2 separate regions of the Homo sapiens genome follow, and region 2 is linked to region 1. The links are contacts of gene promoters, found by promoter capture Hi-C in human tissues and cell types (Jung and others, 2019). All regions are on one chromosome and are shown on one strand. The core of a region is centred on a gene start or on the middle of the fragment in contact, and the rest is flanking DNA. Distances in the headings are between cores, read along the strand shown.

What was found. Contacts are between HindIII fragments. The study calls those that stand out against the background at their distance.
Region 2: a fragment that was not itself captured here is called in contact with the fragment with the promoter of SCFD2 in region 1 in 2 of the 25 tissues and cell types used here (aorta and spleen).

What each region holds. Positions count from the first base shown.
Region 1 is chr4:53,363,761-53,367,710 of GRCh38, forward strand. It overlaps SCFD2 (sec1 family domain containing 2), which reads right to left and starts at 2,301. Exons shown (of 9, transcript NM_152540.4): 1 at 1,344-2,301. The coding sequence starts at 2,181. RefSeq lists enhancers at 1,727-1,776, 1,997-2,196, 2,217-2,266. The HindIII fragment of the contact is 11,346 bases long and covers 1-3,639 here.
Region 2 is chr4:53,930,250-53,933,968 of GRCh38, forward strand. No RefSeq gene overlaps it. Among named protein-coding and RNA genes, the nearest start is that of CHIC2, 130 kb to the right of the region's middle. RefSeq lists a silencer at 1-2. The HindIII fragment of the contact is 4,528 bases long and covers 1-3,719 here.

The sequences.
Region 1 (3,950 bases), core at 1,051-3,550:
TGCAGTGAGCCTCGCGAGATTGCGCCATTGCACTCCAGCCTGGGCGACAGAGAGAGACTCCGTCTCAAAAAAAAAAAAAAAAAAGCATTACCTACTGAAGATGTAAAGAGCTGTTACTATGATGCTGGACAGTGGGATATTAAGTTTTGCCTAACAGAAGTCTTAGGGGAGGGTACAAAATTATGTGAACTTCCCAGTTGATTATGAAACAACTTTGCTACATTTTTGGCATAAAGAGATAGAAGTAACAGTAATATATAGCATCCACAAAAAAACTCAACAAGCATCTACTTATCAGGTTTTATCTTTTAATCCCCTATGGACTCTGTGATGCTACAGTTATTACTTATATATTTAAATCACAGACTGGACACCTGGTTTTTCCAGTCACATAATTAAGTTTACATCTCAGTATTACCATTTAGCCTACTTTCCATTTTTTATCTGAAAATTAATCTTATTAAGATTAAAAACTCAAATATACCTATTTCGTTTTTTATAACTTAATTCAACTTTTTTTCTGACCGATTAAAGGGAATGCCTACCAATGTCAGTTTTCCGATTATTCTCCCTGGACTTGGAAGTGGCTAGGCTATATTACTAACAGTATTATACAACCTAATTAGAGAACAATAAAGTTGACCTTTGAAAATAACATATCAAACATCAGAAAGTGTCTTTTCTTCATCTGCTTTAAGGATTACATTTGTTTCTTTTGTGTAAATAATACATTATTACAATTTGAGATTATTTACTTAATCTTTAATACAATGAGAGCTAAAAATAAATCAATAAACATTTGAAAATATTTTCTACAATTCTATTTCATCTCATTTACTAGTAACATTTAAGTTCAGCCTCACTTTTGAACACTCATTTCCTAAACCTCAATTGTCTGTAATAATTTTATGTTTTCTTGTGCAGTAGTTTTCCTTCCGCTGGGTCATCTATTAACACTTCTCCAACAAACCAGAGTCTTCTTATGAAGGACTGTTGTGAATACTGGCATTCGTAAATTTCTAAAAATAAAATTTCCCAGGTGCACAGTTTTCCTCCCTGTCAGCATAATCTTGGGCTAAAGTTGTTGTTTAACAAGGCAATGGGCATTTATGACATTTCTACCCATTACAGCATTTAACAAATGTTATTGTAATTGCTAATTCACCTGTCTGTATTCCACTTTAGACAATAAACTCTGTGAGATTAGAGACCGTGTCCATCTAGTTCATCTTTGTATCCTCAATCTAATATATAATAAAAGGTCAATAAAATATATGCTGAATCAATGAAAGTCCCAGCAATGTGGGGAATGGTAATGAAGAACTCCAGAGCAATGCACTTACCTGTGAGATCCAGGGTTCTGTCCACAAAAACCACTGATGCCCTGCCTGCAGCAGTCTTCTTCCTGTTCTTTGCAGGGGCATAATTGGCCAGATCCGCAGCGATGACCTGACTTAAGGAACCTACAGCAAAACACTCCTCCCGTACTCCTAAATGTTCACACAGAGAACTGAGGCCTGACACTAGGCATCTGATCTGCAGCAGCAGCTCTGGGGTTAGCGTAGTGGAGTCCACATCACCCAGGCTTCCCAGCTTCCTCTTGTCCGGTCGGGCGCTATTAAGGAGGTGCACATCCTGGGGTAGCAGTGGGAAAAGGGATGCAAAAGCTGGAGTCAAGGCAAAGTGGGGAGCAACAGGGGCAAGCAATAACGGGACATGGAACACCTCGGCCGTGTAGTTCATGTTGCCCATCCATTCACACAGCTTCTCCTCCAGCTGCTCGAACACCGGCTGCTGCCCCTCCATCTCGGCCGCTGCCGCCGCTGGGACATGATTAGCTGTGAGGTGGACAGCGTGGCTCACGGTTGTGACCACCACACAATACTGGAAGTGACTGCGGCAGATGATGTCCCGTAGGATCTCCACGGTCCGGCCTTTCAGCAGGCAGCTCAGCACAAACACTGCCTTGGGCTGCTTGGCTCCACCACCAATTGCGTCGGGCTCGAACTCTCGCAGGTGACAGTCAGGACCCCCCACCGCCTCCAGGAGACGGGTGGATCCGCAGCCCCAGTGCAGGCTCTCGGCGCAGGCGGCGTCCAGGTAAACCACAGCCCGTTTCACTTTGGCCAGCACCTGCTCCCATCCTTGCTGGGTAAAGGACAGTACGCCCGAGGCGCTCATGGTTGGGGATTCGCAGACTTGGGAAACTACGGTGCAGGAACTTCTTTCAGAACTCACCGCTTCCGGAAATTGGGCTCCGGGAGACTTTGACAGTCTCCACAGTACACGTGGTCGGCCTCTGACACGCTCCCTGATGGCGCTCGGTGATGACGTTAAACTGAGCGGTGATTGGCTAGAGAGGAGGCCGGGAGTGAGGAAGGATGGCGCGGTCGGGAAAGAAGTGGGTGGGGCTCTGTGGCTCCGGGCTTCCTCAAAAGCTCGTGGAGATCAGGTGTTTCCTGAGATGGAGCTGAACTGAGTTCTTTCCGTCGCTCGGCCTGTCTGCGCAGATAATCTTCTCAGATAATCTTCTCATGTTCCTTGAAAAGTCTCCGAAATAAAAACCTAATCCGAAATTTGGTATCTTCCTTAGATATGAACACGTCTCCAAAAGTACAGCCACCTTCTCAATCTAAACTCAGAGCAACTAGAAAAAGATAATAAAAACAACCGTGTGCAATATTTTGGGTTTATAGATTGCTGTCACATACGTTATCGCCCACAAGCCTCATAACAAACCCTGTTGTTCTCATTTTCACTTTCTCCATCTTTCCTCCCTCATCTCATCGTCACTACATCTTATAGGCTTAAAAACTCTCAGAATTCAGCCCTTCCTCTCCATTTTTGCTGTCACAAAAACCCAACATCATCGCTCACCCAGGCAATGATCTCCCAACATTTTCTGACTTTTGATCTCTTTACCCTCCAATTCTATTTTCTTCCTAATAAACAAAGTTGGTCCTACAACTTTCCTGCTTAAAAGCTTCTCCTAGCCCAGTTGCCTATAGGATACATCCACACTCTTTAAAAAGCATCAACATCCTTCTTGATTTCTCAATTTCTCTCCAGCTATTCCCAACATGGAGAAAAATTGTACCGATACAATGAAGTCAATAGGCTGAACCCAAAATGTTTTATGGGTTCTGTTTGTTCCACCAATATACTTACATTACTAAGTATAATCTCTGTGCTAAGCTTCAAAGATGCAATGGTTAATAAAATTCATTACCTAATCCACAAAGAATTTACCTGGTAAACTTACCGAAAATAATCATTCCAACAGTACTGCCTGTGAGAGACTTTTTCTAACTCACCACCACTATCACCCTATCACCTCTCACTTCCCCCACCTATCAAACCACTCAATTGATACATTCGCTAAGTACTTGCCATATCATGGGGTAAGTATTAACACTATTTTCTTTAAACTATCTGTTTTGCTAAATTATGCACTAGATGCTTGGTATCCCCAACACTTATAACAGGTGTTCAATAAATGTTCGTTGAATGAATGTTCAATTAATATCCATGGCCAGGCGCGGTGGCTCATGCCTGTAATCCCAACACTTTGGGAGGCCGAGGTGGGCAGATCACCTGAGGTCAGGGGCTCAAGACCAGCTTGGCCAACATGGTGAAGCTCCGTCTCTACTAAAAGTACAAAAAATAGCTGGACATGGTGGCAGGTACCTGTAATCCCAGCTACTCGGGAGGTTGAGGCAGGAGAATCACTTGAACCCAGGAGGGAGAGGTTGCAGTGAGCCAAGATGGCACCACTGCACTCCAGCCTGGGCGACAGAGCGAGACTCTGTCTCAAAAAAAAAAAAAATTCCACATAATAATATATCCAGCCAATTTTTAATAAATACGTACAGTATTCCAAACACTGTCTGGGTTTTAAGGATATAAAGAAAACTAAACCACAGCCCTGATTTCAAAATAATTATGATGAA
Region 2 (3,719 bases), core at 209-2,708, 570 kb after region 1:
TTCCCAGCCTTGAGTTTACAGTCTTGGGAGAGGAGGACCAGTATACTTAGGCACATGAAATATCTGCAAAGTAATGCTAATATATGCATTTTCCAAATGAAACTAACATAAAATGAGTACAGCATGTTGGTTGCTCCTCTAAGCCCTAAACTGTCCTCCCAGCACCCCTACGACACAGGTACAGTACAATTACATCTTTCCTTTAAGAGGAGGCACTAATAGATTTAGTAGTTTTCCCAAGGCCACAGGGGCAGAGGCATAAGTCAACCCAGGTAGCTCGCTCCAAAGCCACACTTAATCACAATGAACTGGCTCAAGAAAAAGGAGAATAGAATGACATCAAACCAACAGTGGTGACCTGCGGGGAGTCAGGTGTGCTGGGAGACTACACTATTTACTTTCCACACAAAGCTCTGTATTGTTGAAAATTCTGTCCCCAGGCATAAACTGTCATGCTTTTAAATTCAATACTTTTTATAAGAATAATATAAGAGCATAAAATACTACTCAACTGTGGTCAAAGGCTAATTCAGGAATTGTGGGTTTTGAAGCTTGTTTATGGAGGAAGGAGACTCTAAGGATAAGAATTCAAAATAGAAATACAAAATTACATATAAAAGTAAATATTTATGGCCAGGTGCACTGGTTCACACCTGTAATCCCAGCACTTTGGGAGGCCGATGCAGGAGGCTTGCTTGAGCTCAGGAGTTCAAGACCAGTCTGTGCAACATAGTGATACCCCATCTCTACAAAAAAGTTAGAAAAACTAGCTGGGTGTGGGATAGTCCTAGCTAGCTGGGAGGCTGAGGTGGGAGGATCACTTGAGCCCAGGTGTTGGAGGCTACAGTGGGCTATGATTGCACCACTGCTCTCCAGCCTGGGCTGCAGGGGGAGACCCTGTCTCAGAAAAAGAGTGAAAGTTTATTTAGATTGAAATATGAAATCGTAACAAATTACACATTTTTGCTCTTTTTTTTTTTTTTTTTTTTTGAGATAAGATCTCACTGTGTCACCCAGGCTGGAGCACAGTGGCACTATCATGGCTCAATGCAACCTCCACCTCCCAGGCTCAAGTGATCCTCCCACCTCAGCTTCCCAAGTAGCTGGGACCACAGGCACCCACCACCATAACTGGCTGATTTTTGTATTTTTTGTAGAGGCAGGGTTTTGCCATGTTGCCCAGGCTGGTCTCAAACTCCTGAGCTGAAGAGATCCACCCACCTCTGCTTCCATAAGGGCTGAGATTACAGGCGTGAGCCACCGTGCCCGGCCACACATTTTTGAAAAGTGACAAACACCACAAATATAACAAAATCCTGAAAAATGACATAACCTCTACAATATTTTTTCCTATTCTTTGGCTGCATACTTTTCATATGATCATCTCGTCACATAACAACTGTGCAATATCATTTTCATGTAAAGAAGACAAAGCAATTCAAATGCATTTTAAAATGCCATTATGTTGGATAGAGCTACATAATTGTTTAATTGAATTCTCCCTCTGCTGTGTACAATAACTTATGGATGAATATGCTTGGGAGCTTTGTGACAAGAACACTTAGGGTGCTTTGCTGTGATTTTAGTGCTTTTGAATGTTTTTTTGTCTGGTGTTGCCAGGTTTCATCAGGACAAGTTATATCAGATATGCTAAGACTGACTCAATATGTTGGTAGACATAAAATGCAGTTTGGCATGCATAAAAATGATACTTCACAGTTTATAGTATTGCTACAGCTTTGTGCTCTACAAACACGAGAATTCTAATCAATTCTATTTTGCATTGATTTCTACTTTAAAAGTATGATAGTATGGTGCATTATAATTGTATATACCACATTTCTGAGTATTTTCCTGAAGATAATTTCTGTCTTGACTAGACATCAATGAGAACCAAATATTTCACTCATAATTGTGTACAGCTGATGATTGAAAGAACATTCCACAGATTAGCTTCTCATTCTGCACATTTTAACTCTTGCTTCTTCTTCACTCCCACATGCTTCCAGTGTCAGGCATCATAGGAAACATTTAAATCATAATAAGACCCATGATGCCACAGAGCATGCACTGAGCAAGAGGGTTCCTGGAAGCCTAGAATACCCAAGAATAACCAACAATTTCTCGACTCTACATGGAAGTGTGAACCATATATATAGATCCCACTCGACCAAAACAAATAAATCTCCAACTCAACTTCTCCTTAGCTGGATTCCCCAAAATGCTCATGCCTCTCCATCACCACACAACTCCTCAAGGGAAAAGTGACGCAGGGGCAAACAGAGTCAACAGCATCCTTAGCTTATGACAGTTAAAATCTTACTTTTACATTTTTACCAAAAGCATGTGACCATGTGAACCCAAGCAAAGGTGCTTCTGGGATCTTGGAAGTCATTCTTATAACTAGCAGGTCCTAAAGCTTAAGCTCCTTTCTAGAAAATCTACTCTGATTGTGGTGAAGACGACCATTGCAACAAGAGCCACGCTCACGGAGAAAGCAGTGCGTACTGGAGTTGTCAAGAAAAACTTCTTGTAGGAGACAGGCACTGAGCAAGGCCTTAAGTCATTGGTAGGATCCAACAAACAGAGGAATAGGATGGGAGTCTAAGCCACAAAGTTTCTGCATCTGCCAAAAAGTAGATATGCATGTATGTGGATGTAAAACGTGTTTTCCTGCCAATGAAAACATTTTTCCGTCACTGGCTTAGAGCTACCTAATAAGAGCCAATGGCAATACATTTACACATCACTAAAGAATGAGAAGTGAACTTTCTTCCCGGTCCCCTCTCCCCATCACCATCAGCAAATAATCACTCCCAAGCCAAGATTAACCAGAGCTGCAGGCATTTGGCACACATGTGGTCCCCATCCACCTCTTCCAACCTGGGATCCAAAAACCCTGGATTTACACCCCAGGCAAAAGAGAGACTGGCCTGAGACTAAGTCTTCGGTGGTAGATGCAGGAAGCAAAGCCTGGTGGATGCCAGTCCAATCAGCGTGAGGAAGGAAGATTCATGCCCAGTTCTCACCCCTCTTTCGCTTGAATATATTTTGTGCCATTACCTGCAGGAAAGGGGGAAGGGAAGGAATGTTTCCCGCCAGAGGCAGCAGCTGTCCCCTCATTTGGAAGACTCTGAGTTGATTTTGGCCATGTCCTTCTGCCTGTTTCTTTAACATGCTGCATTAAGCCTCAGCTTTGCTCCTCTTGCTCCTGAATTCTGTTTTGAAATATCAGAGAAATGCTCCCAGGAGGACTTTGAATGTGAGCACTCTTTATAGGCTATTTTAAGGAGCTCCCAGCTCAGGCCAGGGTCAGGCAACAACAGCTAAACCCAAACTCATCAGCACCATGGTCTACCCAGGAAAGCACAAAGACTCAAATGTCACTGAGTTCACCACCATTCGTTTAGCACCTACTGTATGCCGGGAGTGCTCTTAGAAATTAGGGTGATAATCCTAAACCAAAAGAACAAAGCTGGAGGCATCATGCTACCTGACTTCAAACTATACTACAAGGTTACAGTAACCAAAACAGCATGGTACTGGTACCAAAACAGAGATATAGACCAATGGAACAGAACAGAGCCCTCAGAAATAATGCTGCATATCTACAACTATCTGATCTTTGACAAACCTGACAAAAACAAGAAATGGGGAAAGGATTCCCCATTTAATAAGTGGTGCTGGGAAAACTGGCTAGCCATATGTAGAAAGCTGAA